2 separate regions of the Homo sapiens genome follow, and region 1 is linked to region 2. The links are contacts of gene promoters, found by promoter capture Hi-C in human tissues and cell types (Jung and others, 2019). All regions are on one chromosome and are shown on one strand. Each heading gives the region's core, a stretch centred on a gene start or on the middle of the fragment in contact. The rest is flanking DNA. Distances are from core to core; before and after follow the strand shown. Region 1 has its middle 36 kb from the start of RIBC2. Region 2 holds the start of UPK3A (uroplakin 3A).

Region 1 (4,236 bases), core at 988-3,487, 160 kb before region 2:
TGGTGGCATGCACCTGTAGTCCCAGCTACTCAGGAGGCTGAGACAGGAGAATTGCTTGAACCTGGGAGGCGGAGGCTGTAGTGAGCTGAGAACGCGCCACCGCACTCAGCCTGGGCAACAGAGTGAGACTCTGTCTCAAAAAAATAAGAAAGAATTTAGAGGGGAGATGGGAACTGGAGGTTTAATTTGAGCTATGGGATATTTACTACTGACCAGTGGACCCCTTCGCCCAGGGTGCTCCATCCCAGGCTTCCTGATGCCCGGAGAGAGGAGCAGGCAGGAGCCTTGAGTGTTGCAACATCCTGAGTGATTTATAGGGAAAATGTCCCTTGTGTTTGTTTCTCAGCACTGCCTTCCAAGAGGGAATCTAAAACCCCACATTCTGATCCTAAGTGTAATTTCCAGTCATTTCCACCGACAACATTTGGTTCTTATTATCAAAAGATACTCACACAGATGTAGCATTAAAATCTTGGCTTCCACAGATCAAGAAAACAAGATAATCTGAAGTATTGCAGCAGCCCTCAGACATTTACAATTCCAAGAAATGGTTGTTGGAGAACTCTTCTAGAATATCCATTTCCCAATGTGTTTCTGGGTGGAAGAAAGCCAGCCACTTGGTCAATTTCAGGGTGTTCATCTGAACTTTCCACCAGGAAGGCAGAACAGCCTCAAAGGGTGAACCCCTTAGGGATGAGGACCCGGGATCATTTCCTGGGGCTTCCCCAGGCCCCTTACCTCGGGGCACACAGACGGTGCTCAGTGACGGTTCGTTGGCTGTGAAAAGAAACAGGCAAATGCCACAAGCCAGCACATGCGAGGTCTTCCCATTTGACATCTCTTTCTGCAGGTTCCGAGGGCTGGTGACGGGAGAGGTGTGGCTTCTCTGACACAGAAGTGGAAAAATATACGAAACTCATGTTTGGAACTTTAATGGAGAACTTTTATCCTTCTCCCTGTTAAATTCTGTTTTAGTGATTCTGGATCCTTCCAAATAACATCCCCGGCATGGCATTCTCCACTCACAGGCCTTACATATTCCCAGAGTGTATCGTTACGTAGTAATTTATTAAGTCCATCCTATGCATCAAGTACTTTAATGAAGTATCTCATTTAATTCTCAGAATAATACTGGGACAACCATATGTGGATCATCCTCATTTTACAGATGTGGAAACATAGACTTAGGAAACGTAGGTCATTTTTCCAAGAGAACACGGCCAGTGAGAGGCAAAGCTGGTATGTGGGCCCAGAGAAGGTGACCCACGCCCCATGACGCACTGTTCCTGAGTCCCTGTGAGCACCAGCAGTGCCCAGGCTGGGTGGAAGGGGCCTTCTTGTACATTCGCCTACTTCCTCCTCTTGGGGATCCTGAGAGGTAGGTTGGTGTTATGATCCCCATTTTACAGCTGGGGAAACAGACTCACAGAGGTAAAGCGACTTGTCTGAAGTCACACGAAGCAGAGGGGCCAGAACCCGGGTCTGAGGGACACCAGCAGGGTCCTTTGTCTCCCCCAGAGCCCCAGGACTTCACCCCTCCTCTGCAGCCTCCGCCTCCACCATTGCTCAGGATGAAACAGGCTCCTTCAGAGCCCACCGGGGCACGGAGGCTGAGAGGTAATGGCTTAGCCCGAGAAACCCCCAAGAGGGCTGGCACGGTGGCTCACGCCTGTAATCCCAGCATTCTGGGAGACTGATGCAGGCAGATCTCTTGAGCCCAGGAGTTCAAGACCAACCTGGGCAATCTGGTGAGAACCGGTCTCTGCAAAAATACAAAAATTAGCCAAGTGTGGTGGTGCGCAACTGTAGACCCAGCTACTTGGGAGGCTGAGGTGGGAGGATTGCTGGAGCCCAGGAGGTGGAGACTGCTGTGAGCCAAGATCAAGATTGCACCACTGCACTCTAGCCTGGGTGGCAGAGCGAGACTCTACATCAAAAATAAATAAATAGGGCCAGGTGCAGCAGCTCACGCCTGTCATCCTAGCACTTTGGAAGGCCAAGGCAGGAGTATCACTTGAGGTCAGGAGTTCGAGACTAGCCTGGCCAACATGGTGAAACCCCATCTCTACTAAAATATAAAAATTAGCCAGGCGTGGTGGCACATGCCTGTAGTCCCAGCTACTCAGGAGGCTGAGGCAAAAGAATTGCTTGAACCTGAAAGGCAGAGGTTGCAGTGAGTCAAGATTGCGCCACTGTATTCCAGCCTAGGCAACAGAGTGAGACTCTGTCTTAGAAAATAATAATAAATACATACATACATACATACATAAATAGGCTAGGTGCAATGGCTCACACCTGTAATCCCAACACTTTGGGAGGACGAGGCAGGTGGATCACTTGAGGCCAGGAGTTCGAGACCAGCCTGGCCAACATGGCAAAACACTATCTCTACTAAAAATACAAAAATTACCGGGCATGGTGGTGCCCATAATCCCAGCTACTCGAGAGGCTGAGGCACAAGAATCACTTGAACCTGGGAGTTAGCCGAGATCATGCCACTGCACTCCCAACCTGGGAGACAGAGCAAGACTCTGTCTCAAAAAAAAAAAAAAAAAATAGAGGCCGGGTGCGGTGGCTCACGCCTGTAATCCCAGCACTTTGGGAGGCCGAGGCGGGCGGATCACAAGGTCAGGAGATCGAGACCATCCTGGCGAATACGGTGAAACCCCGTCTCCACTAAAAAATACAAAAAAAATCAGCTGGGCATGGTGGCGGGTGCCTGTAGTCCCAGCTCCTTGGGAGGCTGAGGCAGGAGAATGGCATGAACCTGGGAGGCAGAGCTTGCAGCGAGCCGAGATCGCGCCACTGCACTCAAGCCTGGGTGACAAAGTGAGACTCCGTCTCAAAAAAAAATAATAATAATTAATAAAGAACCCCCTCAGGAGGTTCCAGGGGCCTCAGTGCAATTGTGACTGCACCAGGTGTGACTTGGGAACCCTGGCGAGGAGGCAAGAGAGCGGGAGCCTGTGCAGCTAATTCCACAGGAAGGGAGACCACCCAGATCCAGAGGCCGAGGCCTTCCTCCTGACAGCTCCCTGGCCATTCATCTTGTGCACATGGCTACATAAAAGGAGTCGAGAGATCGAGTCCATTCTTTCCCTCCTCTGGGGCTTGCTTGCAAGGCGGGGTTGGGTCAAGGTTGGGGCAGCCTCTCTCTTCCTCCCTGCTTGGTGCCTCAGTGACCAGCCAGCTCCCTGCCCCACCCAGCTGGCCCCAGGCCACCGGCCGGGCCTGGGACTCAACTTGCCAACTTACAGCCTGAGGGAGGGCTGGGCTCTTCAAAAACAGCCTCAAATCATCCAGGCCGCTGACAGCCACAGGGCAAGCGCCCAGAGCCCATTCTTTCTGTCTGGCCTCCATCTCATCCGGCTATCCCAGGATCCCAGGAGTGGCTGTTGATGGAGCCCTTCCCATGGACTGGGCCTTTGCACACACATTGCACCAAATTCTCACAGCAGCCGAGCCAGGTAAGCCGGGTGATCTCCAATTTACAGATGGAGGGCAGGAGTCTGAAGTGGGCTTTGTGGCCACGCAGCCTGGATTCCCATCCAGCTCAGGACTACATGGTCTTGAGCAAGTCTCTTCACCTACCTGAGCCTCGTTTTATTCAACTCATCAGCAAAATGGGTGTAATTCAGGGTTCCTTTTTTTTTAATATTTGAAAAAAAAATTTTTGTTTTTTTTAGATGGAGTCTCACTCTGTCGCCCAGGTGAGAGGGCAGTAGTAGTGCAATCTTGGCTCACTGCAACATCTGCCTCCCAGGTTCAAGCGATTCTCCTGCCTCAGCCTCCCCAGTAGCTGGGAGTACAGGCACATGCCACCACAGCCGGCTATATTTTGTATTTTTTAGTAGAGATGGGATTTCACCATATTGGCCAGGCTGGTCTCAAACTCCTGACCTCAGGTGATCTCAGCACCTCGGCCTCCAAAGTGCGGAGATTACAAGCATGAGCCACTGCACCTGGCTAATTTTTCTATTTTAGTAGAGACAGGGTTTCACCATGTTGGCCAGGCTGGTCTTGAACTTCTGATCTTGTGATCTTCCCACCTCAGCCTCCCAAATTGCTGGGATTACAGGCATGAGCCACCATGCCTGGCTTGACAAAAATTTTTTTAAGTGTTGGAATTACAGGCATGAACCACCGCCCCGGCCAATACAGGATTTCTTGAGTTGAGTCCACAGATTCCCAAGAGATCCATGGAGAAGCTGGAGGAGAAGGGAACCCATGAAATAG
Region 2 (4,061 bases), core at 1,169-3,668:
TGACCAGGTAGGCATTCAGGATCTGTGAGGCCTTGGACACATCCCCAATGGCATCCAGGCTGGGCAGGTCACTGCAGGGGATCAGGTCAAAGGCCACAGCTTTGTAGGGACCTGTCCTCCCACCCTCTGTTTGTAGGAACGTTGAGCCCAGTGGGGTGTTGGTGCTGTCTTGCACTGAGGCATTCCTGGAAATGGCTGCAGAGGCGGTGCAGGGAGTCAGGCTTCTGGCCACTCCGGCTCAGCGACACTCACTCAGTTATTCATCAAATGCCTGATCATCCTTTCTGCCCCAGCTCTGTGCTGGGCACTGGCATCACAGGCATGGGGCAAACTTAGTCTCTGCCCTCTCAGTGCAATGTGGGAGATGGACAAGGATCACCTCCCTGCTTTGGGCGCTGTGTCTGACTCTCGCCTTATCTTGTGACATTCCTGCAACCCCCCATCCCAACAGACCTTTGTCTCTTCATTGCTGAAAGCCCTGGATTCTCTCTTGTGTAAAATGGGAAAGGAAGGTCATCGGTCCAAGGGAAATAACGTGGAGGCAGGACCCAGCTCTCCTCCTTACTAGATGGGTGACCTTGGACAACTCACTCTACCTCTTCAGACCCTAGTCTTCTATGAAATGGGAGAGAAATTCCCTACAGTGCCCGGAGATCAGGCACTTTAGTTTATAGTCAATAAACACATGCTGAAAGAAGAAAAGGATGGTCCCGAATGAGCTGTTGTAAATGACTGGCTGCTAGAAATGCAAGAGTTGATGTTGGCTTGTCTCAGAAGCTCAGGATCCCCTCCAGGGCAGGGGTTGGGGCTGGGCCACAGCAGCAGGTCCAAATGCATGGTTTTGTCTCAGAAACACCAATCTTGAGCCACCTTTCGAAGCCTCAGGAAGGACCTTGGGCTTGGGGACTAGAGAGATCAGGATTCACTCTCCAGCCCTGGGAGGTCCAGGGGGGGTTATTCCACCTCTCTGAGCCTTGCTTCCCTGCTCTGTAATGGGGATTGGTAATAGCTACCTTACAAGCTGGTTGTAGATACTAGCTCTATGGTGTGCAAAGTGCCTGGTATGGTGTAGGTGTTCAGTGACTGGTGGTGTTATTACTTCCCTCACTAACTGGATGTCCCTGCAAGGCAAGGACAGGTCTGTGGCTGCAGTACCTGTTTAATGAGACGACTACAGGCATGGAGGGTTCCTCTATCTGCCTCCTTCCCTCCTCCCTGCAGACAGGTCAGAGCCCCTTTTGGAGTAGCCAGAGGGAAGCAGGACCCTTACCTGAGTCGACCAGGACATACAGGTAGACCTCGTGGGTGCCAGTGAGGGCCTCTTTGCTGTCAAACATGCAGAGAGGCTTTTCCAAGGCCACAGTGGTAAGTGTGGGGTTGTTGGTGGCGAAAGTCACACTGGCCAGTTGGGGCTGCAGGTTCACAGCTGGAGGAGGCAGTGAGGATGGGAACTGACCTCCGGCAGAACTGTCCACACCCACTCTGCTTGCAGTTACTGAGCACGTGTTGTGTGCCAGGCCCTGGGCTTCACCCTCCCCCTGGGCCACCGCATAAGCTGTCTCAGACACTGCCCCCTGCCCAGTCATCCTGCTCAGAAATGGAGCGGTCGGGCCAAACTGCTGCCTTCTCTCCCTGCTGCAGACACTCAGTTGCCAAGAACTCCACTGCCCCTCCTAAGCATCTCTCCATGCCATCGGCCCAGCCCTCCTCCGTCCCACCTTCCTCACCTGGGCCCTCCCCCCACATGCAAGTCTGACTGCCTCATTCTCTGGCTATGGCCCTCCCATGGTCCCCCAGCGCCCCCTGACGAAGTCCAGCCTCTCTGGAAAGGCAGTGAGGTCCTGAAGTTCTGGGCTTTGCTTTGTTCGGTCTCCAGCCTCACCCCTTCCCCCACAGGCTCCCCTCACCCCAGGCTCCAGCTGGTCCCATGGACTGGCAGTTCCCAGGACAGCCCAATATTGTCTCCCCTCCATGAACTTGCCCATGCTGCTTCCTCGGCCGAAATATCTCTCTATCTGCCCCCGTCCAGGCGTCACCATGGGGCTGGGGCTAGTCCCTTCTCTGTCCTACCGCAGCCCCCCTGCATGTTGGTCTCTTGCAACACACATCGCAGGGCTGCAGCCATCTGTGAGCCCTCGGATTCCCAACAGAGGAGGCCCGTAAACGTTGGCTATCACTATTATTCATAACAGTAATATCTGGGTCCCCAGCGCCAGGAATCAGGGTCCAGGCGGCGGGCGCCCCAGGGCAGAGCTGCCCGCTCTTTCTGGGCTCAGCCCCCTCCTGCCCTTCACCGCCTACCCGAGCCGAACCGCAGGCAGCCGAGGGCCAGCAGGGCCCAGAGCGGAGGCATCGCCCGGGAGGAGCCGCCAGAGCGCGGGGCGGGCGGTCCAGCGAGCAGGCGCGGGCACCAGACCTGTCCCTGCCAGGGCACCTGCCAGCTCTGGGCCCTCGGCGCGCCCCGCCCCCGCCTGGGCTGGCCAATCCGCGGCCTCCTCGCGCGCTATTTGCATACGGCCCTGCCCCGGGCTTCCCCGACCCGTGCGCGGTGCCCCAGGGCGCAATCCCACCGGGCAGGACCTTCTCCAGCCCGCATCAAAGCGCCTACTGTGTGCCCAGGCCAGGGCAGCCCTTCCACAGCGTCTCTCACCAATGGGACCTTGAGGGCAAGCCACTCCCACTTGGAGCCTCAGTTTCCATACTGTAAAATGACGCTAATTTCTACAACTATTTATGGAGGCTCTATTACGTGCCAAACACTCACTGGGCACTCGCGAAACAAAATGGGTTGACCAGTAAAGGTGATATCCTGGAAAACGAAGTCCAGGCCTGGGAGCTATCCAGAGACCCTAGTATGACGCCTAGTATGACCCCTTCGGTTCACAGGTACAAGCCAAGGCCCGGGAGGCTGGGGGGTGGGGCAGGGGGTAAGTATTGGAGCGTGGTGGGGGGCGCGGGGACAGGGACTCACCCCCGGCCGCGCTTGGTCTCCTGGAGACACTGAGGCTGGTGGAACCCAGGAGTCCAGTGCTCAGCCCAGGGCTGCCTCCAAAGGGATGGAGCAGGGTGTTAATGCCTACTTCTTAAAGGGGCGTTTGAAAATTATGATGGACTCCTCACCATGACTGTGCGGTTCCCTCCATCACAAGAATCTGTGCACATCTCTGGATGCACCTTAAATCAATTTTACATTTAAGAAATAAAAGTAAGTCAACAAGGATAGGAAAAAAACAACAGAAGAGGGGCAAGGAGGCTCATGCCTGTAATCCCAACACTTTGGGAGGTCAAGATAGGAGGATCCCTTGAGGCCAGGAGCTAGAGACCATCCTGGGCATCATAGTGAGACCCCATCTCTACCAAAAAAAAAAAAAAAAAAATTAGCTCAGCCTAGTGGGGCATGCCTGTAGTCCCAGGATTGCTTGAGCCCAGGAGGTCGAGGCTACAGTGAACTATGATCATGCCACTTTGAGCTATGATTAAAGCTGCAATAACAGAGCCAGACCCTGTCTCTTAGAAAAAAGATAAAGAAAATCAACAGAAACTAATTAATCTCTGTATGACGTTGATGACATAACCTCACTTGCAGAAAAAGAATAAAACGATCTGAGTAATTATAGAGCTGGGTTGTCCAGGGGTACCTCCTTAGTGGAGTACACTCTAAGAACTGGGAGGCCTGTGACAGAACCCCAAACCTCACTAGTGACTTTGTTATTGGCAGTGGGGAGGGCGGAGCCATTCCGAAGCAACTTTGGGTTATCCTAGGATTGGTGGTACCAGAACCCAGATTCTCACTGTAGGATGAGGGAGATTTGGAATGGAGGAAGGAAGCACATGAGGTCAGTGTGTCCCATTATTGGGGATGTTCCATTTCATCATTTGGTAAAGTTGGTATCTCTGGATTAATGTATGTCTTGTTCCCTAAAAATCTTTTTTTTCTTTTTTTTTTTGGGGGGGACGGAGTCTTGCTCTGTCACCCAGGCTGGAGTGCAGTGGCGTGATCTCGGCTCACTGCAAGCTCCACTTCCCACGTTCACGCCATTCTTCTGCCTCAGCCTCCCGAG

The links. The method cuts DNA at HindIII sites, captures the fragments that hold promoters and counts their contacts. A contact is called where the count stands out against the background at its distance.
Region 1: a fragment that was not itself captured here is called in contact with the fragment with the promoter of UPK3A in region 2 in 1 of the 25 tissues and cell types used here (dorsolateral prefrontal cortex).

Annotation. Positions count from the first base shown.
Region 1 is chr22:45,447,602-45,451,837 of GRCh38, reverse strand. No RefSeq gene overlaps it. Among named protein-coding and RNA genes, the nearest start is that of RIBC2, 36 kb to the right of the region's middle. The HindIII fragment of the contact is 9,220 bases long and covers 1-4,236 here.
Region 2 is chr22:45,283,306-45,287,366 of GRCh38, reverse strand. It overlaps UPK3A (uroplakin 3A), which reads right to left and starts at 2,418. Exons shown (of 6, transcript NM_006953.4): 1 at 2,302-2,418; 2 at 1,271-1,426; 3 at 1-195. The coding sequence starts at 2,353. RefSeq lists a silencer at 2,288-2,597. The HindIII fragment of the contact is 20,192 bases long and covers 1-4,061 here.